Linked DNA regions of Homo sapiens: region 2 is linked to region 1. Evidence: promoter capture Hi-C in human tissues and cell types (Jung and others, 2019). All regions are on one chromosome and are shown on one strand. Each heading gives the region's core, a stretch centred on a gene start or on the middle of the fragment in contact. The rest is flanking DNA. Distances are from core to core; before and after follow the strand shown.

The links. The method cuts DNA at HindIII sites, captures the fragments that hold promoters and counts their contacts. A contact is called where the count stands out against the background at its distance.
Region 2: a contact is called between a fragment that was not itself captured here and the fragment with the promoter of EMC4 in region 1, in 2 of the 25 tissues and cell types used here (dorsolateral prefrontal cortex and hippocampus).

Annotation. Positions count from the first base shown.
Region 1 is chr15:34,223,630-34,230,460 of GRCh38, forward strand. EMC4 (ER membrane protein complex subunit 4) reads left to right here and starts at 1,387. Exons shown (of 5, transcript NM_016454.4): 1 at 1,387-1,571; 2 at 1,907-2,021; 3 at 4,064-4,217; 4 at 4,800-4,960; 5 at 6,124-6,527. The coding sequence starts at 1,486. The coding sequence ends at 6,159. SLC12A6 (solute carrier family 12 member 6) reads right to left here. Exons shown (of 26, transcript NM_001365088.1): 26 at 6,155-6,831. RefSeq lists an enhancer at 1,701-1,750. The HindIII fragment of the contact is 15,250 bases long and covers 1-6,831 here.
Region 2 is chr15:34,020,020-34,027,033 of GRCh38, forward strand. All of the region lies in intron 1 of AVEN (apoptosis and caspase activation inhibitor), which reads right to left. All of the region lies in intron 1 of CHRM5 (cholinergic receptor muscarinic 5), which reads left to right. Among named protein-coding and RNA genes, the nearest start is that of AVEN, 16 kb to the right of the region's middle. RefSeq lists enhancers at 2,448-2,948, 2,949-3,449. The HindIII fragment of the contact is 5,352 bases long and covers 2,643-7,014 here.

The DNA.
Region 1 (6,831 bases), core at 137-2,636:
CGCCTGTAATCCCTGGTACTCGGGAGGCTGAGGCAGGAGAATTGCTTGAACCCGGGAGACGGAGGTTGCAGTGAGCCGAGATAGTGCCATTGCACTCCAGCCTGGGCAACAAAAGCAAAACTCCGTCTCGAACAAAAACACAAACAAACCAAACACCAGATATGTGGTGGGCACTAATCTCACAAGCCTTGAAAGTAGGTAGATTATCCAACTTTTACATGAAGAGGCTGAAACAAATTCAACTTGCCCAAGGTCATACAATTATTAAGTGGTGAAACCAGGATTCAAAAGGAGGCCATCTGCTGGGTGCAGTGGCCCATGCCTTTGTAATCTCAACATTTTGGGAGGCCAAGGCAGGAGAATCACTTGAACCCAAGAGTTTGAGAGCAGCCTGAGCAACATAGCGAAACCCTGTCAAAACAAAACAAAACAAAACAAAACAAGACTGGGGCGTGGTGGCGCGCCCTGTGGTCCTAGCTCCTCGGAACGCTCAGGTTGGAAGGAACGCTCAGGTGGGAAGATCGCTTGAGCCGGGGAAGTCGAGGCTGCAGTGAGCCGTGATAGCGCCACTGCACTACAGCCTCGGCAACGGAGTGAAACCCTGTCTCAAAAAACAAACCCAAAACAAACAACAACAAACGCAGGCTAACTGAATACCGAGCCCATGTCCCCTTCCATGCCCACAATGCTGCCTTGCCTTTGTGCAGAATGTGGTTAGAACTGTTTACCTCGCAAGGTTACTGTGCAAGTGAAATGAAATAAACACATGACACAGTGGACATTCAATACTCAGAAACTACTAAGTAACTCGCTCAAGGTCAAGCTAGGATTTAAACCCAGGATTTGAATCTTTTGTTCCAGGGAGCGCGTAGGAGGTTAAGAAGCTTTTCTTGGCTTCCTTTTTTTTTTTTTTGAGACAGAGTTTCGCTCTTGCTGCCCAGGCTGGCGTGCAATCGCTCGGTCTCAGTTCACTGCAACCTCCGGCTCCCGGATCCAAGCGATTCTCCTGCCTCAGCCTCCTAAGTAGCTGGGATTACAGGCGCCCGCCACTAAGCCCGGCTAATATTTTGTATTTTTAGTAGAGACGGGGTTTCACCATGTTAGCCAGGCTGGTCTCGAACTCCTGACTTCAGGTGATCCGCCCACCAATTCTTAACGCTGAGTCAGTATGGGCTTTCCTTCAGCCCCATAAAGTGCACCTCAGAGGTCAGGGAACACATAACAAGGACATTCAAAAGGGGAGCGCGCGGAAGTGGCTTTAGGAAGCACTAAGTCTTGCCTGGTTTTTTTTCCTCCCTGCTTTTCTAAATCCAAACCCGGACTCCTCAACCCACAGCACCACCAATTTCCAGGGCGGAAATGACGTCGTATTCACGCGCCGGAAGTGCATTTGCAGAGTGAGACAAAGCGGAGAACGCTGGTGGGCCTGTTGTGGAGTACGCTTTGGACTGAGAAGCATCGAGGCTATAGGACGCAGCTGTTGCCATGACGGCCCAGGGGGGCCTGGTGGCTAACCGAGGCCGGCGCTTCAAGTGGGCCATTGAGCTAAGCGGGCCTGGAGGAGGCAGCAGGTGAGGCACCTGGGCAAGCTGTACATCACTGTTCATCCCAGAACTGCACCAGAGTAATGAGACCTGAGCCCTCAGGCATAACTCTGAAAAAGATGGGTGGCACACAGACATCACCTGGGGAGGTAGCGGCTTTTCTGCCGTGGAAGTTTCTCTGCTCAAACAATGCTTACATCAGTCCTCCTGATAAGTCAAAGGACTGAGGAACATACGAGGGGGCTTGGTCTAATCTGAGTAGGTGCATCTGAAGATCTTTATTCCTATGATTGGTAGATCAGGAAATGTGGGATAAGAAGTATCGGAGGTTGCAGCTTTAGTTTCTTGGTTTGGTTTTTTAGGGGTCGAAGTGACCGGGGCAGTGGCCAGGGAGACTCGCTCTACCCAGTCGGTTACTTGGACAAGCAAGTGCCTGATACCAGCGTGCAAGAGACAGACCGGATCCTGGTGGAGAAGGTACAGAGGTATAGATGTTACCGTAGCCCATGGGCCAGTCCTGAGTTACACACTCATCCTCTTCTCCTAGGTGGAGTTAACGTAGATAGCTCTTATCCTGAAGATTTGGAAACTAAACTGCTTGAGGCTGGTATTTCGGTATTTTATATATCAGCTACAAAAGTGCTTAATAATTTGAAAAATAGAAGATGTTTGGAACATAAGGTATAAGAAAGTAGGTTGAAAACTATCTTTTGGTGGCAACATCTTCCAGTTGAAGTGATCCTTTTTCTACTCTGGTTCCCTTACACCACATATCCAACTGTCAGGATACTCTGTTGGCTTTACCTACTACTTTTTCCTGTGTTCACCTCTCATCCTAATCCAAGCCACCATCCTTCATCTAGATTTCTGCAGTAGCCCGGCTAATTTTTGTATTTTTAGTACAGACAGGGTATCACCATGTTTGCCAGGCTGGTCTTGAACTCCTGACCTCAGGTGATCCATCCGCCTTGGCCTTCCAAAGTGCTGGGATTGCAGGCATGAGCCACCGCGCTCGGCCCGGGGCTATTTATATTTCTAATTTCTCCTGTCATTTTGTTACATTTTTTCTAGAAACTTATCCATTTCCTAAAATTTCAAATGTATTGATATAAAGTTGTTCATAATATGATCACTTCCATATATGCAAGATCTGTGATGTTCATTTTTTCATTCCTGATATTGAATATTTTGTCTCCTCTCCTTTCTTCATCAGGCTCACCAGTATTGATTTTTTAAAAATTATTTTCATTTATTTTTACAGGTCACTGTACCCATCACCAGTATTGATTTTATTAATCTTTTCAAAAATACTTGGGTTTTTTTCTAGTTTCTTGAAATGGATGCTTAGTTTATTTTTAGACTGCCATTACTTTTTTTCTTTTCTTTTGAGACAGTCTTGCTGTTGTCGCCGAGGCTGGAATGCAATAGCACGACCTTGGCTCACTGCAACCTCTGCCTCCCAGGGTCAAGCAATTCTCCTGCCTCAGCCTCCCGAGTAGCTGGGATTATAGGCACCCACCACCACGTCCAGCTAATTTTTTTGTATTTTTAGTAGAGACGGGGTTTCACCACGTTGGCCAGGCTGGTCTGAAACTCCTGACCTCAGGTGATCCACCAAGCTCGGCCTCCCAAAGTGCTGGGATTACAGGTGTGAGGCACCGCGCCCGGCCACATTGCCATTACTTTTAATGGCAACAACCGCAGTTACTTTTGCAGCAACCTGGTAGTATGTATTTAAGGTTATAAATTTCTCAGAACTCTAGCTGTGTCCCACGAGTTTTAAAATGTGGTACTTTTGCTATCATATAAATCTATTTTCCATTATAATTTCTTCATGTATCATTGTTAATTCCCAAACATAAGAGATTTTCTAGTTACTATAAAATTATTTCTAGTTTAATATCATTGTAGTCAAAGAATATGTTTTGTACAATTTGCATTCTTTGAGATTGACATTTTCTTCATGGCTCAGCGAGTGGTCAGTTTTTGTGAATATCTTGTTTGAAAAGAATGTGAATTCTGCAATTGTTGAGTGCAGTGTTACATGTCAGTTGGGTTAAGTTTGTTAATGTCATTCAAATCTTCTATGTCTTGATTTGCCTGCTAATTCTATTATTTCTGGAACTAAATTAGTTCGATGGTTCTATTAGTTATTGACTGAGGTGTGCTAATCTCCCATTATGTGGATTTATCTATTTCTTCAGTTGTAGATAGGACATTGATAGATACATAAGTACCAGGACAAAAGCAGGGAGATCTTTTTTCCAAAATCAGGAGAAAAAAATGACATCTGGAAAACCTATAGGGAAAGGCATAACAGATGGTAAGGATACTTTATCTTGAGTAGGAGAGCCTTCCTGTGGCAACGTGGAGAAGGGAAGAGGTCGTAGAATTGAGGAGTCAGCTCAGTTAGAAGCAGGGAGTTGGGAATTCCGTTCATGTGATTTAGCATCAGTGATATGGCAAATGTGGGACTAAGGGTAGTGATCAGAGGGTTAAAATTGTGTGTTTTGTTTTAGCGCTGCTGGGACATCGCCTTGGGTCCCCTCAAACAGATTCCCATGAATCTCTTCATCATGTACATGGCAGGCAATACTATCTCCATCTTCCCTACTATGATGGTGTGTATGATGGCCTGGCGACCCATTCAGGCACTTATGGCCATTTCAGCCAGTAAGTATTCTTGAAACAATAACCCTTCCATAAGTTTGAAGAATTAAAGGCAGGCCGGGCATGGTGGCTCACGCCTGTAATCCCAGCACTTTGGGAGGCGCCAAGCTGGGTGGATCATCTGAGGGCAGGAGTTCGAGACCAGCCTGGCCAACATGGTGAAACCTTGTCTCTACTAAAAATGCAAAAATTAGCTGGGCGTGGTGGCACACGCCTGTAATCCCAGCTGCTTGGGAGGCTGAGACAGGAGAATCACTTGAACCTGGGAGGCAGAGGTTGCAGTGAGCCGAGATCGTGCCACTGCACTCCAGCCTGGGTGACAGAACGAGACTCCATCTCAAAAAAAAGGAAGAATTAAAGGTAAATTCTTAGGGACAGTTTTTGGCTAACAGGTATATAGGGGAGTGGGGTAATGGTGGTGGCATGGAGGGGAGTGTAGTGCTTACCATGGTTTTCTGTTTGCCTTTAATGGTCCTATTTGCTGTCTTACTATGGGTCTGTCTATATGAATTTAATATACAGTTGGCTTGATTCGTATTGGGGGAAAGAGTTCTTTTGGTTTGACAACTTCTGTTACCGCAACAGCTTTCAAGATGTTAGAAAGTTCAAGCCAGAAGTTTCTTCAGGGTTTGGTCTATCTCATTGGGAACCTGATGGGTTTGGCATTGGCTGTTTACAAGTGCCAGTCCATGGGACTGTTACCTACACATGCATCGGATTGGTTAGCCTTCATTGAGCCCCCTGAGGTAAGGCAAAAGAAAAGCTGAATTTTGGGTAGTTGTAGTATACAGTGAATAGCTGACCTACTTGATGGTAGGAAATTGGAGTTGGTATTTGAGTTTCTTTTTTTTTTTTTTTTTTTTTTTGAGACGGAGTATTGCTCTGTCGCCCAGGCTGGAGTGCAGTGGCATGATCTCGGCAACCTCCGCCTCCTGGGTTCAAGCAATTATTCTGCCTCAGCCTTCCAAGTAGCTGGGATTACAGGCACCTGCCACCATGCCCAGCTAATTTTTTTGTATCTTTTAGTAGAGATGGGGTTTCACCATGTTGGCCAGGCTGGTTTTGAACTCCTGACCTCAAGTGACCTGCCCACCTCTGCCTCCCAAAGTGCTAGGATTACAGGCGTGAGCCACTGCGCCTGGCCTAGGGTTTCTTAAAAAATAAGAGCCATTAGGAGTTTTTAAGTTATTATTTTTAATTAATTAATTAATTTATTTATTTTGAGACAGAGTCTCACTCTGTCGCCCAGGCTGGAGTACAGTGGTGTGATCTTGGCTCACTGCAACCTCCGCCCCCCAGGTTCAAGCGATTCTTGTGCCTGAGCCTCCCTAGTAGCTGGAATTACAGGCAACTGCCACTGCACCTGGCTAATTTTTGTATTTTTAGTAGAGACAGGGTTTCACCATGTTGGCCAGGCTGGTCTTCAGCTCCTGACCTCAGGTGATCCACCCACCTCGGCCTCCCAAAGTGCTGGGATTACAGGTGTGAGCCACCATGCCTGGCCAAGTTATTATTTTTGAAACAGGGTCTTGCTCTGTCACCCAGGCTGGAGTGCAGTCATGTGATCATGGCTCACTGCAGCCTCAACCTCCGGGCTCAGGCACTCAGCCTCTCAAGTAGCTGGGACTACAGGTGTGCACCCCAATGGCTCGCTAATTTTTGTATTTCTTGTAGAGACAGGGTTTTGCCATGTTGCCCAGGCTGGTCTTGAACTCCTGGGCTCAAGCGATCTGCCTGCCTTGGCCTCCCAAAGTGTTTAGCTAAGATTAGCTACTGCGCCTGGCCTGGAAGTTCTTTTTTAAGGATAGGCAAAATAGAGCTTGTGGTTAAAGTATTAAGTAATTGATTCAGGAAGTTATTTTAACACTCATTTGCCACTCACCTATTTATTCTTTCTTTCTTCTTTCAGAGAATGGAGTTCAGTGGTGGAGGACTGCTTTTGTGAACATGAGAAAGCAGCGCCTGGTCCCTATGTATTTGGGTCTTATTTACATCCTTCTTTAAGCCCAGTGGCTCCTCAGCATACTCTTAAACTAATCACTTATGTTAAAAAGAACCAAAAGACTCTTTTCTCCATGGTGGGGTGACAGGTCCTAGAAGGACAATGTGCATATTACGACAAACACAAAGAAACTATACCATAACCCAAGGCTGAAAATAATGTAGAAAACTTTATTTTTGTTTCCAGTACAGAGCAAAACAACAACAAAAAAACATAACTATGTAAACAAGAGAATAACTGCTGCTAAATCAAGAACTGTTGCAGCATCTCCTTTCAATAAATTAAATGGTTGAGAACAATGCATAAAAAAAGTTGCACAAGTTCCTTATTTTCCTTAATATTTCACTTCTATTTAATACAAGCTGGGACATAAAAATTCTGTTGGGGATACCTGGGGGAAGATGTGAGAAACTAATGCTGAATTCAGCTTATACATGATGAAAAGAAAAACCAGACAAAAGGAGCACATAAATATGCATACAGTGTAACTGTTATTATTTTAATACCCACGATAAGGGATTTTTGTTAGCATGTTTAGGGGGAACGAGGATTGGTGGGATCCTTGGGCCACAGGAATCTGAGGCAACGGAAGATATATAGAGTGATCGTCCCCCT
Region 2 (7,014 bases), core at 4,069-6,568, 200 kb before region 1:
AGAGGTTTTAGGCTGGGCGCAGTGGTTCACACCTGTAATCCCAGCACTTTGGGAGGCCAAGGTGGGTGGATCACAAGGTCAGGAGATCGAGACCATCTTGGCTAACATGGTGAAACCCCGTCTCTACTAAAAATACAAAAAATTAGCCAGGCGTGGTGGTGGGTGCCTGTAGTCCCAGCTACTCGGGAGGCTGAGGCAGGAGAATGGCGTGAACCAGGGAGGCGGAGCTTGCAGTTAGCTGAGATCACACCACTGCACTCTAGCCTGGGTGACCGAGCGAGACTCCATCTCAAAAAAAAAAGAAAAAAAAATAGAGGTTTTAAAAGGATAGTGTTCTTTTCTGCTTTTAGAACTTTCTTACTGATGCCTTTACAAGTTGGTTGCACAATATAAATCCAAGGAGGCAAATTAGAAATTTGGTTGAAACAATACTATTTCTCTTAAAGCATGTAGATCATCTGGTTTAAGCCTCTAAGCACCTATCCTTGTTAACTAAAGGGTTAATGCCATCATCTGGCAGAACATCCCCTCTTCTCACACCACCTCACAATTCTGAAATGGATTTCAATTCTCACTGCACTTTCATTAGTACTTGCTCTGACTTACAGATGGGCAGCTGTAACTTCATAAAGCTATGTATGCCTTCATAAAAGCTCCTCATATCACATCATTCAAGCCCCTTGACTGAATTACGACCTTACTCTCCTTGTCATGAAAAGCTGTAAATGAAATTAGGCCAAATTTCGTAAGACACAAGATATAATCTCCACATAACTTTTTACTTGTTTTTATAAGAAAAGGGCCAAACTCCAGCCCTAACCAGTAAAAGCTGTTTGATTTGCCATTTTGTATTAAAAAACAAATGGACCTACCAAAATTCTCTTCCTTTTAAGCACCTACCTTATATGGAGACAGTCTATATGCACACACTGACCAAATGGTGAGGAATGAATCACTGGGCCATGCATCTGAAAAGTCTTTTTCTGCATATACACTTTACCTGACAGAAAATGATTTCATGTATGCTTCTCTAGCTTTCCAGCATCTGAAGCTCCTCTTTTGAATTTATTCTCCTTTTCAGTTCTTCCCCGATGAAGAGTCTATAAAATGCCTATCTTTTCTCATTTGTGGCCTGGGTGAATTTTTCTATGAAAAAATTGCATCTTTTTCTTTTTCTTTTTTTGGAGATGGAGTTTTGCTCTGTCGCCTCCCAAGTAGCTTAGGCTACAGGCACACACCACCCCACTCAGCTAAAAAATATTTTCTGTATCTTTTTTTTTTTTGAGACGGAGTTTCACTCTTGTTGCCCAGACTGGAGTACAATGGCGCCATCTTGGCTCACCACAACCTCTGCCTCCCGGGTTCAAGTGATTCTCCTGCCTCAGCCTCCTGAGTAGCTGGGATTTCAGGCACACACCACCATGCCCAGCTAAGTTTGTATTTTTAGTATATACGGGGTTTCTCCGTGTTGGTCAGGCTGGTCTGGAACTCCTGACCTCAGGTGAGCCACCGCGCCTGGCTTATTTTCTGTATCTTTAAGAGCACTTACACATGGCCGTGTAAGGTGGCTCATGCCTGTAATCCCAGCACTTTGGGAGGCCAAGGTGGGCAGATCATTTGAGGTCAGGAGTTTGAGACCAGCCTGGCTAAAATGGTGAAACCCCGTCTCTACTAAAAATACAAAAATTAACTGGACATGGTGGCAGGTGCCTGTAATCCCAGCTACTGGGGAGGCTGAGGCAGGAGAATCACTTGAACCCAGGAGGTGGAGGTTGCAGTGAGCCGAGGTTGCGCCACTGCACTCCAGCCTGGGTGGACAGCGCAAGACTCCATCTCAAAAATAAAAATAAAATAAAATAAAATAAGAGCACTTCCACATGGCAACATTAACATGAAAAAGAAGTGAGCACCCACAGCACTTGTGCAAGCAGCATTCTTAAAGTCCATAGAAAGCAAATGACAACTACTGCAAAATTTGTACTTAGAGAATTCAAGTGCAAATATTTTGTAGATGGAATAAGACGGCATTGTTTGCAATAAGGACAAGTACATGCATTATATTTAAAACCTACTCCTGCCACACAATGCATGACATTTGAAAGCTGTTTGGCTGGCATGCCCTTCTTTTCTAGCTGAACTGCTTTCTATTGCTCCTCAGACATCAAATGAATGGCATCATGGCCCCATGTTAGCAAAAATTCCTTCTTTCCAATCCTGACAATTTTAACCAGAATGGAGAAATAAGAAAACATTTTTCAGAGGCAGAACAATTAACAAGACAATTTTCCCCATGACAAGACAGAATACTACTATAATCTGCATCTCCCTTCTGCAGCTCTTTTCAATTGTGACCTTTAGGAAGCTCTCCCAACATTAGGGAGGAAAAAATATTTAATTAAAAGAAAGGGCAGCAAAGGCGCCTACAGAAGGGAGAAAGCTTTTACCTTGTATTAGAGAAAGGTGGATTTTCTCAAAGCTCCCCATCCATCAGAACAAAATGCAAATCCCAGGATCAGGACTACGCAGCAGGAAGGGTACACAAACTTTGAGGCTGGGCCACAGCCTGACATGCAAGCCTGAACATCTGCATGCTGGTAAAATTCCCTTGGAGTTAGAATACTAACATTATGGTTGCCTTACACCTTTTGCATAAGTATGAGATTATCTCTCTGCTTCACAGAATTTTAAAGACTCCAAGGATTCTGCCCACTGTGATTAAAAAAGGAAAGCATTCCCCCAACACACACACACTCTCCAGCTTACATTTTCCTGACCTTCTGGCTGGAAGGATGAGATTTCTCTTGGATTTTTGCTACCTCTGTACCACCACTGCAGCTCTGCTGAAAGCTTGCCTTTGGCTCAAAGCCAGATAGAAAAGAACAATGAGGCCGGGCGCGGTGGCTCACGCCTGTAATCCCAGCACTTTGGGAGGCCGAGGCGGGCGGATCACAAGGTCAGGAGTTCAAGACTAGCTTGGCCAACATGGTGAAACCCCCATCTCTACTAAAAACACAAAAATTAGCCTGGCGTGGTGGTGTGCGCCTGTAGTCCCAGCTACTCAGGAGGCTGAGGCAGAACTGCTTGAACCCAGGCAGAGGCTGCAGTGAACTGAGATCGCGCCACTGCGCTCCAGCCTGGCAACAGAGCGAGACTCGGTCTCAGAAAAAAAAAAAGGAAAAGAACAATGAGAAACTTACCCCTCTCATCCCCCACTCAGGTTGCTACTCCAGGCTTTCACTTCACAATCTGCCAGCTTTTCTTTACTTTTCTGAGTCCTCAGGTAATCTGCCCACTGAGTTTGGTTGCTATCAGCAAAAGAAATAGGCTGTGGTGGGCTAACCTCATCTTGGCCGAGTCCTCCCTAGTAATCTTAGTAACAGTTGTTGCGGCAGCATCTCTCTTGGCCACATCACATAATGATAGCCGATACACACCAGAGCTCAGGCGCAGCCCACCTCTCACCTTCCTCTTGATGATGCTGTCAGGGTAGAGAAAGCCTGGTCATTCATTCTTGCAAAACCTGAGATTCAGTGCACAATTTCTTAACCTCCTCTTAGGTGTCACCATTTATTTCAGACTCTAACAAAAGATGGAAGAAAATAAAAAAACTCTCTGACCTCTGGAACACTGTCCTATTCTTGCCCCTACTCTGTAAGCCTCTGTTGCTTGCCATCCCTTCAATCACGCCAGGCTTAAAAGGCCAGGTGAGCAGTTAAATATTAAAAGTAAACAGCTGCTTATTGTGTGCTGCTAGCAACTAAAAAGACCTAATCTATACACCTTCAGGCTGTGAAGGGCATCAAAGAAAGAAAACATGTGTTAGAAATTCTGACAGATGCCACGTTTTTGGCCAGGGAAATTTAAACTCATTCTGGCTCTTTTTATTGATGGCAAAATAGAGGACTCTATCCAGAGAGGAGCCCAGAGAGTGGATTTGATTTCAGATGTAAGCTAAACCTCTTCTCCCTTCACTGGTTTTAATCGTAACAGGAAAAGCATAAAACCTGCTACCAGAAAATAAATGTGAATGTTTCCAGAATACTGCAAGTAATCCCTTGCTTAAACACAAAATCCTTTATTCAATTACACAACAAATATCTACTGAGAGCTGATACTATGCCAGGCATTAGTCAGTGTGCTTGGATTATAGCAGTGAACAAGACCAATTCCATGCACCCATGAAGTTTGCATTCCACCAGAGGAGTCAAACAACAAAAAAGGAATACTTTATAATGCTATTATAAATACATAAGACACCATCACTTCAGGTAGTGATAAATGGTATCAAAATAAAGTAGGTATGAGATGAAGAGTGATGGGCGGCAATCTCTATGAAGAAACCTCTGAAGGCTGGGCGTGGTGGCTTACACCTATAATCCCAGCATTTTGGGAGGCCAAGGCCAAGACTGCACCACTGCCCTCCAGCCTGGGCAACAGAATGAGACCCTGTCTCAAAAAAAAAAAAAAAAAAAAAGAAGCACTTTGCTCACAGAATATTCATTAAGGAAAACTATCAAATTAAAACTACAAATTACTATAAATAAAAAGGAAGGCCAGGCACAGTGGCTCACATCTGTAATCCCAGCACTTTGGGAGGCCGAGGCGGGCGGATCATGAGGTCAGGAGTTCGAGACCAGCCTGACCAACATGGTGAAACCCCGTCTCTACTAAAAAAAAAAAAAAATACAAAAATTAGCCACGCATGGTGGCACACGCCTGTAATCCCAGCTACTCAGGAGGCTGAGGCAGGAGAATAGCTTGAACCCAAGAGGCAGAGGTTGCAGTGAGCCGAGATCGTGCCATTGCACTCCAGCCTGGGCGACAAAGCAAGACTCCTTCTCAAAAAAAAAAGGAAAAAATAAAAAGAAAGAAAGGTGGCGAGGCCGGGCATGGTGGCTCACACCTGTAATCCTAGCACTTTGGGAGGCCAAGGCAGGTGGATTACCTGAGGTCAGGATTTTGAGACCAGTAGAGAACCCCGTCTCTACTAAAAATACAAAAATTAGCTGGGCATGGTGGTAGGAGCCTGTAATCCAGCTACTTGGGAGGCTGAGGCAGGAGAATCGTTTGAGCCCGGGAGGCAGAGGATGCAATAAGCAGAGATCGCACCACTGCACTCCACCCTGGGCGATGGAGTGAGACTCCATCTCAAAAAAAAGGGTGGCATTTGAGGTGAGCATGTGAAAATGAATAAGATTCTGAAATATGAAGTGTGGGAGGGAAATGTAATTTACTAGAGTTTTGGTTGCAAACTATAGAAACCAACTCTGGCTAATTTAGGTAGAAAAGGAATTTACTAAAAGAATTTCTAGTAGCTTATAAAATCGACAAGAAGTTTAGAGAAATAGGCTGAATAAAAAATGAGCAGGAAGCAGGCAGCTGAGAACCCAGCCACAGGAACAATCAGAGAAGTAGACTAGAGTGGTTAGGATGCCATGGTAACTGCCATAGTGAAGACTCTCTTAAGTGTCCCTTCATCCATACATCATTGCTCAAGACTCGAAGCCTAATAAAGGACGTTATTGGGTCATCTGGTGAAACCTCTGTAAGGTTAAATAGAATTGTAGCAATGTTAATGTCCTGATTTTGATAATTGTGCAATGGTTATAAAAGATTTCCTTGCTTTTAGGAAATACACATTGAAGTGTTTAGGGGTAAAGACGCATCATATCCACCGCTCAAAGGTTCAGAAGAAAAAAAAATTGTGTGTGTGTGTTTTTGTTTTGGTTTGGTTTTGCGTGTGTGTGTGTGTTTGTGTGTGTGTGCGCATGTGTAAAGCGGAGGAAGGAGAAAAAGACAGGCACTGGACCTGTCCAAACTCAAGTGATCATCTTGCCCCACAAAGCCCGTGTTTACACTTACCACACACAATACCACATAATCTCACCACCCAGAGATAATCCTTACAGTTTTTATGTGCAGTCTTGCCTACCTGTCTTCCCTATTTTTATAATCACAATATATTTGTAGAATCGTCTTTTCAAATTGGAATATATCTATGTTTCTGATAATACACAACAGTAAAAAATATGAATAAAGGAAAGACAAAGTTCTACATAATCCCTATATTTTCTCTACTCCAAACACAGATTAAGTTTGATATTCTTCTACCCTTTTCAGAGTTTTAAATGCATACATATACCTTATAATTTCCACATATTGTCATTTTTTTTTTACTTAAAAGTCTTATGACATCTTCCCAGTTTTATGAGAAAAGAATATACATCAAATGTTAACAGTGGTTATTTCTGGATGATGATACTAAAGGGCACTTTTATTTTCTTCTTGGTATTTTTCCTACTATGTGACAGCAAAATAGATGAAGCTTTTAACCTCAGGGTGTAACTTTTAACCTTAGGATATAACTTTTAACCTTTTATATTAAAGGGGAGGAAAGGAAACACGGATTAATTTTGATGACAAGGGGAGATATGTTGAGAAAGGTCATACTTGAGATGAGTTTGGAATTGAAGAAATCATATAAGGAAATCAGGAGGTAATGTGTGTCAATCACATATAAGCTGACGTCACCCAGGATGTAGTAAAAAATATAAACTATAAATCAGGTACTCAAATTTTCCAAGGAATGATGAAAACAGGCCCATGAAAAGATAGACAATCAGAACAAGGATCACTGAGGACAAGAGGAAAAAAAATGATAGACTATCACATTTCACTAAGTAACTAAATCACTAGTTTTTGCCTTCTTAATACACTGATATGGATATGTGATCAATTCCAAATTGACAGTTTCAGAAAAAGTAAGTCGCTCACATTAAATATTAAAAACTTCCCCTGCGGTCTTTTGTTCAACCTTAAGAGAGTTCTGTGCTTTGGCTGAGCCAAAAACTCTGTTGTTCCAAAGACTAGAACTGTGGCCTACGTATAATAGAATTAAAGAGTGACATGATGTGTTTTGTCCCAAAGGAAGAAGTTTCTAACAATTAGAGATGCCCAAGAGTGGCAATGGCTGCTTCAAAAAATAGAATAGAAGTACTTCCAGAATGATAAAGA